Linked DNA regions of Homo sapiens: region 2 is linked to region 1. Evidence: promoter capture Hi-C in 16 types of primary human blood cells and fetal thymus (Javierre and others, 2016). All regions are on one chromosome and are shown on one strand. Each heading gives the region's core, a stretch centred on a gene start or on the middle of the fragment in contact. The rest is flanking DNA. Distances are from core to core; before and after follow the strand shown.

Evidence for each region. Contacts are between HindIII fragments. The CHiCAGO score rates a contact against its expected background, and 5 or more counts as called.
Region 2: a contact is called between a fragment that was not itself captured here and the fragment with the promoter of HNRNPC in region 1, in 1 of 17 cell types (monocytes). The highest score is 9.2, in monocytes.

The regions. Positions count from the first base shown.
Region 1 is chr14:21,265,532-21,273,097 of GRCh38, forward strand. HNRNPC (heterogeneous nuclear ribonucleoprotein C) reads right to left here and starts at 3,911. Exons shown (of 9, transcript NM_004500.4): 1 at 3,767-3,911. RefSeq lists enhancers at 730-1,310, 1,311-1,890, 3,390-4,014, 3,652-3,911, 4,015-4,640 and a silencer at 4,002-4,081. The HindIII fragment of the contact is 8,584 bases long and covers 1-7,566 here.
Region 2 is chr14:20,344,202-20,351,767 of GRCh38, forward strand. PARP2 (poly(ADP-ribose) polymerase 2) reads left to right here. Exons shown (of 16, transcript NM_001042618.2): 2 at 731-886; 3 at 1,193-1,263; 4 at 2,662-2,712; 5 at 6,325-6,421; 6 at 6,846-6,921. Among named protein-coding and RNA genes, the nearest start is that of PARP2, 4.4 kb to the left of the region's middle. The HindIII fragment of the contact is 2,313 bases long and covers 3,790-6,102 here.

The sequences.
Region 1 (7,566 bases), core at 2,661-5,160:
GGCGGCGTGGCTCACACCTGTAATCCCAGCACTCTGGGAGGCTTGGGGCGGGTGGATCACCTGAGCTCAGGAATTCAAGGCCAGCCTGGCAACATGGCGAAACCCTGCCTCTACCAAAAATACAAAAAATTAGCAGCACTACTCAGCAGGCTGAGGGCACCCCTTGAGCCCGGGAGGCAGAGGGTGCAGTGAGCTGAGATGACACTACTGCACTCTAATCTGGGTGACAGTGTGAGGCTCTCAAAGAAAAAAAGTATCCTTACCTAAAGCTCAGAGATAGTTTTAGAAAAAAAGTATCTCTAGGTTATTCTTTGTCAAAACCTGCCTGAGGTTTGGATCCCTTCTTCTAAAGGGGCACCTCTCAGAATGAGTGATGCATGAGCATCATCACCTGGAACTTACTAGAAGTGCAAACTCTCAGGGCCCACCCCAGACTTACTTAATTAGAAACCCTTGTGGTAGAGATCATAGCAATCTGTTTTAACTAGCCCTATTGATTCTGGTGTTGGCTAACGTTTGAGAACCACTGTGAAGATTTTAAATTGGGAATCTCTCTATTCCCCAGTTTAGAATCAATTATTATCATTTTTTTGAGATGGGGTCTCACTCTGTCGCCCAGGCTGGAGTGCAGTGGTGCGATGGCTCACTGCAACCTCCACCTCCCAGGTTCAAGCGATTCTCCTGCCTCAGCCTCCCGAGTAGCTGGGACTACAGGCGAGCGCCAGCACGCCAAGCTAATTTTATTTTCAGTAGAGATGGGGGTTTCACCATGTTGGCCAGGCTGGTCTCAAACTCCTGACCTCGTGATCCACCCGCCTCAGCCTCCCAAAGTGCTGGGATTACAGGCATGAGCAGCCACACCCGGCCTTAGAATCAATTCTTTAAACAAAATGCCTGACCTTCCAGTGTACTGTGACAGAATCAAGTTAGAGCACCAAATAATGTTTTCCTGATACAATATAAATAAATCCAAAAACACATAACCTATGATAGTAAATGTACCAAAGAAACCTTTTTTCCTTTTATGTTAATAAACTCAAAATTTCCAATATCGAGAATACCTGTAGTTATGCTACACCTCAAAGTTCTGGTTCTCACCAATCCTCTAGTAAATCTAGTATGCACAAAACCAAAACCTTCCCATTTCCAATGAGAATACATGAATATGCATATTAAGAGCAAATAATGCTCCCCAGAGACAACTACTAATAAAGTACTTGAAGACTGAAATAATGTGGTTAAGAATAGTAATAATAACTACCAATTTAGAAAACCGGGGCCGGGTGCGGTGGCTCACGCCTGTAATACCAGCACCTTGGGAGGCCAAGGCAGGAGGACTCCCTGAGCTCAGGAGTTCGAGACCAGCCTGGCCAACACGGTGAAACCCCGTCTCTACTAAAAATATAAAAATTAGCCCGGTGCGGTGGCACACGCCTGTAATCCCAGCTACTCGGGAAGCCGAGGCAGGAGAATCGCTTGAACCCGGGAGGCGGAGGTTGCAGTGAACCGAGATTGTGCCACGACATGCACTCCAGCCTAGGGCGACAGAGCGAGACTCCGTCTCAAAAAAAAAAAAAAAAAAAAAAAAAAAAAAAACAAAACTGCTTTTAATAAAACTCAATCTGTACAGTTTTTAGGCTTCTGGCAACAAAAAATTTGAATTAGAAACTAAAAATTCAAATAGGTTTTAAAAAAAAGTCTAAGTCCCCTTATTTGCCTAAGGAGGATTAAAATCTATTTCTCCTAACTCCTAGGCAAACTTACTCCCCAGCCAACACCTCTCACATTCAACACTTTATTAAGATTTAATAATTTGCCCCTTAGTCTTTAAAATTAGAGCAACTAGCTATTTTGGAGTTTATTCTTTGCTTGTTTCGCACAGCCATTCCATCCAAAACAAGGTCGAATGCCATGTCAAATCCTCTAGAGATTTAATTACAAACGTAAGCTGTTTAAATTCTCTACAGAAGGAACATCAACCACCAAGTATTCCCGAGAGTGGCACTAGCATGAGGGGGAAAAAAAAGGTCAGAAAACCTGCAACCTGGCCATCCTTCTTCAACTTTTCCCCCTAGCCAATATGAAAATGTTACTAAACGCCTATCTAGTTGAGAACACACCTAGAATTGTGATATAAATACCGTGGCAAACAGTTTCGGATATTAACTCAAAGAATTTTTGGTGCGCTGATATACATACTGACCGGAAGGAACCCATTTTCGAAAACCTCAAAGAAAAGTGCCCGTCAATCAATTTCAACTACTATTAACAGTTCTTAAATACTAATTTCTGACATTTCTCCTTGCCAACATTTTTACTTCATGATTTCCCATTTTTACCCTAACCTCATTTCTAACAGTTCAGCACAATGATAAACTTTAGTTTTAAGTTCCTGTAATAATATACATGTTTAAGCCTTAAGAAAGGGGTCGCGATGTTTTTGACCCTTATTTTACTTCCTATCAAATAGATTGCCTTACAGATGAATTTCTTACCCTGCAGAATGGGTTTAAACTGTGCTTAACAGCTTTAGTTTTTGTGAGATTAACAGATTGTGAAAAATAAACTTAGCCAAATCTCATGTGAGGATTAAAAAAAGCGATGTCCCAGATAAGTCAATGTGACACTAAAGATCTAAACAATTTTTTTTAACTTTTAAGTTTTTTATCAAATTTCAGCACCCAGCAAATAATAGGCACTGTTAATATTTGCTTAATATAACGTAGCTGTGAATTTTTGCCCACATTTAGGCGGACGGGAAAATTAACGCCAGAATATCCCGAAAGTCAAATTTTGTCATCTTACACTTAGGAAGTTACGTTAAAAAATTCTCAAGTCTCGTAGTATTTTTCTTAAGCGCAATTTGGGAATTTCCAGTTACCTCGTGGTTTCCGTCATCAGGTTCTTGGCAAAGATTGCAATACAGTAGTTTTAGAACTATATTAACTAGGTATTCCATTAACTAGGTAAAAACCACTCGACTGACCTCGTGGTCAAATTCCTTACTAGTGCTGCTACTGACTTAATATGACCCTAGCAACCAACACTTTTCTGCCTCAGTTTCCGTCTGAGAAAGAGAGTTAATACCTACCTCAAGCAAAGTTCCACTAACTTATATATTTCAAGTGTTTTGTAACCTGCAGATGAAAAGTCAGCTGTAAATATTAATATAGTTATATCACAATATTTCCTTTTACAAATGTAAGTGAAAATAACTACTTCGAGCTCCATCATTTGCTCATAGAGAGAAATAAAATAAAAAGTTATCAGTAAAATGCTGAATCTTTTGTTAAACCTTTCTCGTAGGCCACGCGGCACGATCCAGGATTTAAAGGCTCGCGATACATCTACTTGGTAACCTTCCCCCTTCCCCTCCCCCACTTTTTACATGTAAGAAGAACGGAGGTAATAGAAGGCATCGGCGCTACGTTAACTTCGACTATATTAATGAGCATCACGATCTTCATTTTCATGATCCCGTAGTCCTCGCGGTCGTAGAAAATGAAAGGAAAGCAGCCGTTAACACAGGAAGAGCGAAAAAAGGACATTTTCCCTGGCGATCGTGGCCTAGAGGACACCAGGTTAAACCTATACAGAGGCTGAGGCCTATAAAACTGCCCCCGGCTTCAACCTAATCCCCCAAAACAAGCAGAATAAATGAGGGCCCGGTTAGTTAGGGGGAAGGATTCCCACATCTTCTCTCCCACACCCCCTCTCGCTTCCCGAAAAACCCAGCGCCTTCCCTGCGTCCGCCCTCTCCACTTACCAAGAAGGGGAGGGAGAAGAGATTCGATTCTGAGTCTCCTACTCCCGGGTTCTGCGTAGAGAAGCCGACTGCTGCTGGAGGTCGGCAACGCGGCCACAACCGCTCAGTCTTCGTCTCTTCACAAAATGGCCCCCGAGTCTCCTCTGCCGCCGAGGCGAAGGCCTAGTCCCCGCCCCATTCCTGAGAATCTTCCTATTGGCTGTGCGTTTTTTCGCTCCCGCTCCTAATTAGACAGTTCAACCGCTCCTCACAATGATATCCAATCACAATTAGCAGTGGGTTAGACTAAGCAGGCGAATTTCCACATGCGTGAGAGAAACTAGTTTATAACTGGTTAGTTTTCCTGTCATTTATTGCCTGGAGAATGCTTATTGGCTATTGCACGGGACGACCCTCTGGGTGGAAACTCGCCTTTGTATCGCGCACCGTCTCACATCCGGGTATCTGGGAGGCCTGATTGGCGGCCGCGGCGTCCTATCGCTGCCCCTTAGAGTGCCTAGTAGAAGATCCGCCCAGACCTCGGATTTCCGGCTGCGCGGGGGCGGGGAAAGGGTTGAGGGGCGTAGTTAGGTGACGGGCGCAAAAGACCTGCCCCAGCCCCGGGCCTAGGGAAAAAAAAGCGCGAAATGAAGCCTCCGTTGTGCAATGTGAATAAAGAAAGGACTTTTCTTAAAATGAGGAGGGAGCAGCAGTGACTAGGCCTTGTTAAAGTGTGTAGAAAACTAACCAGTCCTGCAGTTTTTCCAACCCCAGACCCTTTCTCAGTTCCAGATTCGAATGTCAGCTACCTCGTAGACATCTGCTTCTTGGCCTATTAAACCCTTCTTCAGACAACACATGTTCCATCGAAACCAACTGACTTCCTTATTCCTCTCCAATATAAAAAGGAAGTGCAGAATCCTGGCCTCTGGCCCCAGGGCATCTAATATCTTAAGTGCCAGCAAAATTGGCCCATCCTTCCAAATCTGGTCCCTTAATTTCCCTCCTCTTGAAATGGCTTGTCTCCTACCTACCCCCGTCACCTGCCAGTCTCTCTGGTTACATTATAGGAACTGCGCACGCAGTGGGGTAGCATCAGCTCTACTAAGCCAGCGGTTTCTTTTTTCTTTTCTTTTTTTTTTTTTTTTTTTTTTTTTTTTGAGGCAGAGTCACTGTCGCCCAGGCTGGAGTGCAGTGGCGCGATCTTGGCTCACTGCAACCTCCGCCTCCCGGGTTCAAGCGATTTTCCTGCCTCAGCCTCCTGAGTAGCTGGAACTACAGGTGCGCGCCACCATGTCCAGCTAATTTTTGTATTTTTAGTACAGATGGGGTTTCGCCATGTTGGCCAGACTGTTCAGGTGATCCGCCCGCCTCTGCCTCCCAAAGTGATAAGATTATAGGCGTGAGCCACCACGCCAGACCACTTTAAACTATTTTAAAAAGCAAAGACGAAAAATATGGGAGAAAGTATACACTAAAGTGTTAGTAGTGGTTCTCTCCTGGTGGGAAAATTACATGTGATTTTTTTTTTTAACTTTTTTTTTTTCAAACGGAGTCTCGCTTTGTCACCAGCCTGGAGTGTAGTGGCGCCATCTTGGCTCACTGCAACCTCCGCCTCCTAGGTTCAAGCGATTCTCCTGCCTCAGCCTCCCGAGTAGCTGGAACTACAGGTGCGTGCCACCACGCCCAGCTAATTTTTGTATTTTTAGTAGAGACGGGGTTTCACCATGTTGGCCAGGATGGTCTCCATCTCTTGACCTCGTGATCCGCCCGCCTCAGCCTTCCTAAGTGCTGGGATTACAGGCGTGACCCACCGCGCCCAGCCTTAAAATCTTATTGTACTTTTCTATATTTTCCAAATCATCTACTTTGAGCAAGTAATCAGAGGGAGAATATCCTACGAGTGCTTAAAGCCTCGACTCAATTGCCACATTGCAATTTATTTAAAATTATCTCGTAGCACTGTGGGTAGTTTTACACTCCTCTCCCTTCCTGGATGGTAAGATTTTTTGATGGCAGAGTTTAATTCTTACTCTTCAATATATTTTCCTTGTTTACTACCTATTAATAAATTAATAAAATATTAACCATTAACTTTTATTTATCAGGGGAAATTTTTATTTTTCCAGGACAAGCAGATAGACTGTCCTTTTTTTCTCTCTCTTTCTTTTGAGATGAGGTCTTGTTCTGTTGCCCAGGCTGTAGTGCATTGGCATAATCCCGGATGATTACAGCTTCAACCACCCAGTCGCAAGCAATCCTCCCACCTCAGCCTCTGGAGTAGCTGAGACCACAGGTGTGCACCACCACATTGGCTAATTTTATTTTTATATTTTGTAGAGACAGCGTCTTACCATGTTGCCCAGGCTAGTTTTGAACTCCTGGGCTCAAGCATTCCTCCCTCCTTGGCCTCCCAAAATGCTGGGAGGCACCATGCCAGCCCTGTCTTTTCTTTCTTTTCTTCTTTTTTTTTTGAGACAGAGTATTGTTCTGTCGCCCAGGCTGGAATGGAGCGGCGCAATCTCGGCTCTCACTGAAAGCTCCGCCTCGCCGGGTTCAGGTCATTCTCCTACCTCACTCAGCCTCCCGAGGAGCTGGGACTACAGGCGCCCGCCACCGCGCCCGGCTAAATTTTTTTTGTATTTTTAGTAGAGACGGGGTTTCACCGTGTTAGCCAGGATGGTCTCGATCTCCTGACCTCGTGATCCTCCTGCCTCAGCCTCCCAAAGTGCTGGGATTACAGGCGTGAGCCACTGCGCCAGGCCCTGTCTTTTGTTTGTTGTATGTTTTATGTAGCACTTACTCAGAGAGGCCTGGAGTCTGTCGGGTCTGGTTGACATGTAATTTATGTTATTATTATTACTATTATTTGAGACAGGATCTCACTCTGTCGCCCAGTCTGGAGTGCAGTAGCACCATCAAGGCTCACTGCAACCTCGATCTCCTGGGCTCAAGAGATCCTCCCACCTCAGCCTCCTGAGTAGCTGGGACTACAGGCGTGTGCCACCAGACTCACTAAGTTTTCTAATTTTTGTGGAGATGGGGTTTCACCGTCTTGCCCAGGCTGGTCTCAAATTCCTGTGCTCAAGCAATCCACCGGCCTGGGCCTCCCAAAGTGCTGGGATTACAGGCTGACCCACGTCTGGCCTCTTGACTTAAGTAAACAAAACTGTCTCAAAAATAAAATAAAATAAAATAAAATTTTATAGAGCTCTCTCGTTTTAGCTAACACTGCTTTATACTTTTTTTTTTTTTTTTGAGATGGAATTTCGCTCTTGTTGGCCAGGGTGGAGTGCAACGGGGCGATCTCGGCTCACTGCAGCCTCTGCCTCCCAGGTTCAAACGATTCTCATGCCTCAGCCTCCTGAGTAGCTGGGACTACAGGCATCCGCCACCATGCCTGGCTAATTTTTGTATTTTTAGTAAAGATGTAGTTTTGCCACGTTGGCCAGGATGGTCTTGAACTCCTGTGCTCAAGCAGTCTGCCCGACACACCTCCCAAAGTGCTGGGATTACAGGCCTGAACCACCGCACCCGGTTAATATCTTTTTTTTTTTTTCCTGAGACCGAATCTTGCTCTGTCACCCAGGCTGACGTGCAGTGGCGTGATCTTGGCTCACTGCAACCTCCGCCTCCCACGTTCAAGCGATTCTTCTGCCTCAGCCTCCCGAGTAGCTGGGATTACAGTCGCCCACGACCACGCCGGGCTAATTTTTGTATTTTTAGTAGAGACGGGGTTTTACCATGTTGGCCAGGCTGGTCTTGAACTCCTGACCTTAGGTGATCCACCCACCTCGGCCTTCCAAAGTGCTGGGATTACA
Region 2 (7,566 bases), core at 3,696-6,195, 920 kb before region 1:
TGAAGTAGGAAGAGATCAAATACTTCTCCAAGTTTCCACAGAGAAAAGCAGCAGAGCTAGGCTCTAAATTAGGCACAGACCCTTGAGCACTTAACTAACCTTTATCCCATACGGCCTCATGTATGAGGTGGGTATTTGGGGGACATTGGGACACAAGTAAAACAGATAAGCAGGCCTCAATCTATGAGCTTACAAGACTCCTGGGACTCCCTTTTATTTTGTTTTATTTCATTTGGCTAGAATAGCAATTTAGGAAGAATTACACAGACTGTTACACAAAAGTAGTGTGGGACAGTTGTTATTGCCTCTGTAAACTTAGAAAATTATCTTAAACCGGCGGGGTGAGGTGGCTCACGCCTGTAATCCCTTGGGAGGCCGAGGAGGGCAGATCACTTGAGGTCACGAGTTCGAGACCAGCCTGGCCAACATGGTGAAACCCTGTCTCTACTAAAAATACAAAAATTAACTGGGCATGGTGGTGCACGCCTGTAATCCCAGCTACTCAGGAGGCTGAGGCACGAGAATCACTTGAACCCAGGAGGCGGAGGTTGCAGTGAGCCAAGATCGCACCACTGCAGTCCAGCCTGGGCGAGAGAGTGAGACTCCACCTCAAAACAAAAAAAGAGAGAAAATTATCTTAAACCATTTCTTTAAAAGATTTTTTTCAATCTTTAAAATCTACACGTATTCGGGTGTGTACTCATTCTTTGCTAATTTCCAAATTCTGTAGCATTAAATGAAAGCAAAAGAGTTAATAATGGCAACACGGCTCCAGAAGACTCTTCCCCTGCCAAGAAAACTCGTAGATGCCAGAGACAGGAGTCGAAAAAGATGCCTGTGGCTGGAGGAAAAGCTAATAAGGACAGGACAGAAGACAAGCAAGATGGTATGCCAGGAAGGTCATGGGCCAGCAAAAGGGTCTCTGGTAGGAGTGGATCTGGGGATGATATCTTGTTATTTCAACTCCTATTTCGTCCTTCTTTCAGGGAATAATTAATTTCTCTATCCTTTGGGCATACCACAGCACTAATCTACTGCCTTGAATCTTCATTTTCATGTATTTGAGATGGATTGGGGTCTAAGGAAAGACCAGGATTGGTTGGGCGGGCAAAGTTAATCCTGACAAGTTTCTGTTTTACCACAACAGCTGTTTTTGATTCCCATAAAGTAGTACCTATCTGTCTTTCCTCAGAATCTGTGAAGGCCTTGCTGTTAAAGGGCAAAGCTCCTGTGGACCCAGAGTGTACAGCCAAGGTGGGGAAGGTAAGAGACTCTGGAACCGATCTTCAGTCCATGGATATCTCAGAGAGCATCCTTTGTTATAAGGACTCCTGTCTGGGATGCTGTTAGTACTCATTTTAGGAATCCTCTCCAAAATATGATGAGTGAGTAGTTTTCTCTAATGGCAAGAGATAGGAGTGGTAGGGCTTGGGGTTAATAATCAGGGTGTTTTTTAACATGGTGTGTTAGACCATTCTTGCATTGCTGTAAAGAAATACCTGAGACTAGGTATTTTATAAGAAAAGAGGTTCCTAGAGGCTGTACAGGAAGCATAGCAGTATCTGCTCCTCAGGAGACCTTAGGAAACTTTTACTCATGGCAGAAGGTGAAGCGGGAATAGGCACGTCACATGGCAAAAGCAGGGGAGAGAGAGAGAGACAGAGAGAAAGGGAGAGAGAGAGATTGGAGAAGGTGTCACAGAGAGAGAAAGAGAGAATGGGGAGGTGTCACACGCTTTTAAACTACCAAATCTTGTGTGAATTCACTCACTATCAAGAGGACAGCAGCAAGACAGTGGTGCTAAACCATTCATGAGAAATCCACTTCCATGATTGAATCACTTCCCACCAGGCCCCACCTCCAGTACTGAGGATTACAATTCAGCATGAGATTTGGAAGGAGACAAATATACAAACTATATCACATGCGTACCTTTTGTGGTTGCCATCAGCCTTCTACACCTCATTCTCTTTTTAAACCAGAAAATGGTATCATTGTTAAGGGAAAACTGTTTTCTTGTTCTAATGAGAAACTGTACCCTGGAATGGCATGAGTTACTGATGAATGGGGAAAAAAGAAGGCTACCTCTGGAATAAGTTTTCTTTAACTCAGTTAGAATCTTTTTTTTTTTTTTTTTTTTTTTTGAGATAGAGTCTCACTCGGTCACCCAGGCTGGAGTGCAGTGGTGTGATCTCAGCTCACTGCATCCTCCACTTCCTAGGTTCAAGTAATTCTCTTGCCTCAGCCTCCCAAGTAGCTGTGATTACAGGTGCCCACCACCACGCCCAGCCTGGGCTAATTTTTATATTTTTAGTAGAGACGGGGCTTCACCATGTTGGCCAAGCTGGTCTCGAATGCCTGACCTCAAGTGATCTGCCCACCTTAGCCTCCCGAAATGCTGGGATTGCAGGCATGAGCCACCATGCGCAGCCTAACTCAGAATCTTTTGTATAGTTAAAAAAAAGGAAGCATGTTTTCATTTATAGTAAGGTTACACCCAGGTTACTGGTAGAACATAGGTTTGCAATTCTTTCCTTGGGAGATGAATGTTGATGTTGCTGTAGAATGATGACTTGAGCCATAAGAAAATTTAGAGCCTCATTTAGGATGTCAGGGCTGAACCTATACTAATGTTGATTTTTTCTCTCTCTCCCTTTCTAGGCTCATGTGTATTGTGAAGGAAATGATGTCTATGATGTCATGCTAAATCAGGTAAGAGGCAAGAAGAGGTGGCACCATTATATTTATGAGACCATCTTCTTGATAATTATTGATGATAGCATCACAGTGTTCAGATCTTTAAAGTCCCTTTTTTTTTTTTTTTTAAATTTTGTTTTTTCTTTTTGAAATGGAGTCTCACTTCATCTCTCAGGCTGGAATACAGTGGCACAATCTCGGCTTACTGTAACCTCTGCCTCCCAGGTTCAAGCAATTCTCCTGCCTCAGCCTCCCAAGTAGCTGGGGTTACAGGCGTGCACCACCACTCCCAGCTAATTTTTTGTATTTTTAGTAGAGACAAGGTTTCGCCACGTTAGCCAGGGTCTGGTCTCGAACTCGTGACTTCAAGTGATCCACCCACCTCAGCCTCCCAAAATGCTGGGATTACCAGGTGTAAGCCACCACGCCTTGCCTAAAGTCCTTCATATGTGTGTGTGTATATATATATATATATATATATATATATATATATATATATATTTTTTTTTTTTTTTTTTTTTTTTTTTTTTTTTTTGAGACAGAGTCTTGCTCTGTCACCCAGGCTGGAATGCAGTGGTGCAATCTCGGCTCACTGCAATCTCTGCCTCCTGGGTTCAAGCAATTCTCCAGCCTCAGCCTCCCAAGTAGCTGGGACTACAGGTGCAGTGTCTGGCTAATTTTTTGGTATTTTTAGTAGAGATGGGGTTTCACCATGTTGGCCAGGCTGGTCTTGAACCCCTGACCTCAGGTGATCCACCCACCTCACCCTCCCAAAGTGTTGGTATTACAGGCATGAGCCACTGCGCCCGGCAAGTCCTTTATATTAATATTAGCCATTAGTGGTTAAACACCTGAGTACTCAGCCCTAGCACACTCTTATCAGATAGCAGAGTCCTCTGTGAGAAGATTTTTTTTTGCAAATTTCATATCATTTATTGAAATTGTTAACTCTCTGTTCATATCCTTTTGCACATTTTTTTTTTTTTTTTAAACAGACAGGATCTTGTTCTGTCACCCAGGCTGGAGTGCAGTTTGTACAGTCATAGCCCACTGCAACCTTGAACTTCTGGGCTCCAGCAATCCTCCCACCTAAGCTTCCTGAGTAGCTCGGACTTCAGGCGCATGCCACAAAGCCTGACTAATTTTTAAATTTTTTATGGAGATGAGAATCTCGCTATGTTGGATAGGTGGTCTTGAATTCTTGGCCTCAAATGATCCTCCTGCCTTGTCCTCATGAGGCACTGGGATTACAGGGATGAGCCACTGGGACAAGCTGTTTTGCACATTTTCTAAAGTTATTGGTCCTTTTCTTACTGGTTTCGAGGAACTTTATATAATATGGAGAATAGCCTTTTGTCTGTAATACAAACCACTTGTGTTTTCCAGATTTGTCATTTACCTTTTGGTTTTCCTTATAGTACACTTTTTGCCCATATTGAAGTTTTAAATTTTTTCTGTAGTTAAATTTATTAATTTTTCCTTTTTAAAAAATTTTGGGTTTTTTTTTTTTTAATTTTAGAGACAGTGTCTTGCTATGTTGCTCAGGCTGGCCTTGAACTTGTGACCTCGTGTGATCCTCCAACCTCAGCCTCCCAAGTAGCTGGGACTACAGGCATCTGCCCCCAAGCTCAGCTTTCTTTTTAATCAACCTTTTTCTCTTGTTTACCTTTGTGGTTTTGAGTAGATAATACATTTGCCTCATTAATATATTTCCTGGATATGACTTCATGTTTGAATTTATTGATCCAACATATATAATTTTAACAACCAATTAGTATTTATTTCTTACTATTTCTTCTACTTAAAATACCACGAGCAGATAGAAAATACCTTAAGGTTAGCCAGGTGCAGTGGCTCACGCCTGTAATCCCAGCACTTTGGGAGGCTGAGGCGGGCGGATCACCTGAGGTCGGGAGTTCAAGACCAGCCTGACCAATGTGGAGAAATCCCATCTCTACTAAAAATACAAAATTAGCCAGGTGTGGTGGCATATGACTGTAATCCCAGCTACTCGGGAGGTTGAGGCACGAGAATTGCTTGAACCTGGGAGACGGAGTTTGTGGTGAGCCGAGATCGTACCATTGTACTCCAGCCCTGGGCAACAAGAGCAAAACTCCTTCTCAAAAAAAAAAAGAAAAGAAGGAAAATACCTTAAGGCAGCCAGGTGTGGTGGCTCATGCCTGTCATCCTAGCACTTTCGGAGGCCAAGGCTGGAGAATCACTTCAGGTGTGAGTTCAAGATCAGCCTGGGCAACATGGTGAAACCTTGTCTCTACAAAAAAATACAAAAACACCGGGCATGGGCCAGCTACTTTGGAGGCTGAGGTGGGAGGATTGCTTGAGCCTGGGAGGTTGAGGCTACAGTGAGCTGTGATTGAGCCATTGCACTCCAGCCTGGGTGACAGAGGGAGACCCTATCTCAAAAAAATAAAAAATAAAAACCATAAAAACATTTACAAAAAAATTTTTTAAAGGAAAAGAAAATATCAAGCTGGGCATGGTGGCTTATGCCTAAAATCCCAGCACTTTGGGAGGCCAAGGCGGGCAGATCACTTGAGTTAGGGGTTCAAGACCAGCCTTGCCAACATGTTGAAACTCCATGTCTACTAAAAATACAAAAAAAAATTAGTCTGGCATGGTGGCGTGTGCCTGTAATCCCAGCTACTAGGGAGGCTGAGGCACAAGAAATTGCTTGAACCTAGGACACAGAGGTGGCAATGAGCGGAGGTTGCACCACTGCACTCCAGCCTGGGCGACAGAGCAAGACTCTGTCTCAAAAAAAGAAAATATCTTAGGCTCCTTTTTGTTCTAACATCTAATGACCTTTTTTTTTTCACCAGTGGGCTAAGGTCGTACAATGGCTTTAGAATGTGAGCAAGCAGGAGATAGAGGTAGGAAGGGGCAGCATGCTTAACAAAAAAGAATGCCTCCATATCCAGGGCTCGGCCATACAACACCAGCTGCTATGCCTTATCATGGACTTCTCTCTCTTCACTCTGAGTGATTTACTTACAGATACCTCTTTTTAGATACTGGCCATATTCTCTCTCAGTATCTCCAAGTCAGGTCAGGTTAGGTATGGGACGGATGTGGCAGTGGTTTTGCGTATCCCTTGTCCCCTCCCATTATTGCCCTGCTCTCAGCTCATTGTCAAATTTCTGCAGCTGACAAACAAAAGCTGTGAGTAGAACTGTCAAGGAGTAAGTCATTTAACAGTTGAGCATAACAGGTTTAGACCTTTGGAGCATCCAAATTGTTTTCATTTGGGAAATAATTATTGGGAGTGGATTGGGAGCTGGAAAACACATATAGCTTAGAAAATATCTAAATAGGGAGCTGAGGCAGGAAAAAACTGGAGGAGCCATTCAATGTAGGATATTTGAGGTTGGATAGAGGGTTTTAGGAAGCTTCTAGGCTCCCACTTTAATTCCTAAGAATCCAAAGTTTAATGTATAAGCCCTATTTCTTCTTTATATCTTTAATCTTACAGGAATCTAATTTTCTTGCCTGATGCTATCCTTTTCCTTATGGAAATAACTGGCACCTGTGACGAAGGATGAGTCATTGGTTTATGTGATTTCCATTTGCAAAACTCCTTTTTTTTGTTTTTGTTTTCACTCAACATAGACCAATCTCCAGTTCAACAACAACAAGTACTATCTGATTCAGCTATTAGAAGATGATGCCCAGAGGAACTTCAGTGTTTGGATGAGATGGGGCCGAGGTAATGATTTTTATTGAGATTTTATGAGTTGGCATTCAGAAAGTCAGAAGCAGCTTAGTGGGTGGCCAAAGGATTCTCTGGGTTTAAATTGGGTCAGTAGAGGCTCTGAAGTCTGGGAGAGCCTTAGGAATCAAGTTGAGCATCTTGAAATTGGGGAATGGCAGGCATCCTCCTTAGAGTTCCCACTGGAAAAACTAAGAGCAGCCCATTGAGTCTGAAAACTCTTCTATAGTTGAACTGCTAGTAGTGCTCATAGACTATGGCAGTTAGCAAGTAACTTGTATCAACATGATTAGTTCCCTAAATCCTTTCACCTTTCCCTTCTCCCTTTCCTGCCTGTTTGTCAGATGTTAAGCAGAGAGATCTTGGAGAGCTGGCCTGTTACTCTTAGGGAACTATCTTATGTGTGGCATTTCCTTTGCAGTTGGGAAAATGGGACAGCACAGCCTGGTGGCTTGTTCAGGCAATCTCAACAAGGCCAAGGAAATCTTTCAGAAGAAGTGAGTGCTGAAAAGTGACTACAAAAAAATATACCCTCCTCTTCTTAGATGTATATTCTCTAAAAAATTTTTTTTTAGACAGTTTCACTCTTGTTGCCCAGGCTGGAGTGCAATGGCATGATCTGAGCTCACTGCAACCTCCACCTCCTGGGTTTAAGTGATTCTCCTGCCTCAGCCTCCCTAGTAGCTGGGATTACAGGCGCCCACCACCACGCCCAGCTAATTTTTGTATTTTTAATAGAGATGGGGTTTCGCCATGTTGGCCAGGCTGGTCTCGAACCCCTGACCTCAGGTGATCCGCCTGCCTCAGCCTCCCAAAGTGCGGGATTACAGGCGTGAGCCACCGTGCCCTGCCTTCTCTAAGAATTTTATAAGTGTGTGGCTTATAAAAAACTTTTCGTTTTATAGGTGTGATTTGGCCTAAATGTTAATGTCTTTTCACCCTGACATTCTGTGGTTGAAACACCAAACTGCATCCTTAGTGATTAAATCAAACTAATACCTTGAAAGTCACTAAAAACAGAAGAATCTAATATATTTAACACATGACTGACAAATTTAGGAAATTTGGGATAAGTGGAGACTATCCTGGGATAGATAATATTCAACTAGGGGCTGAGCACGGTGATGCCTGTAATCCCAGCA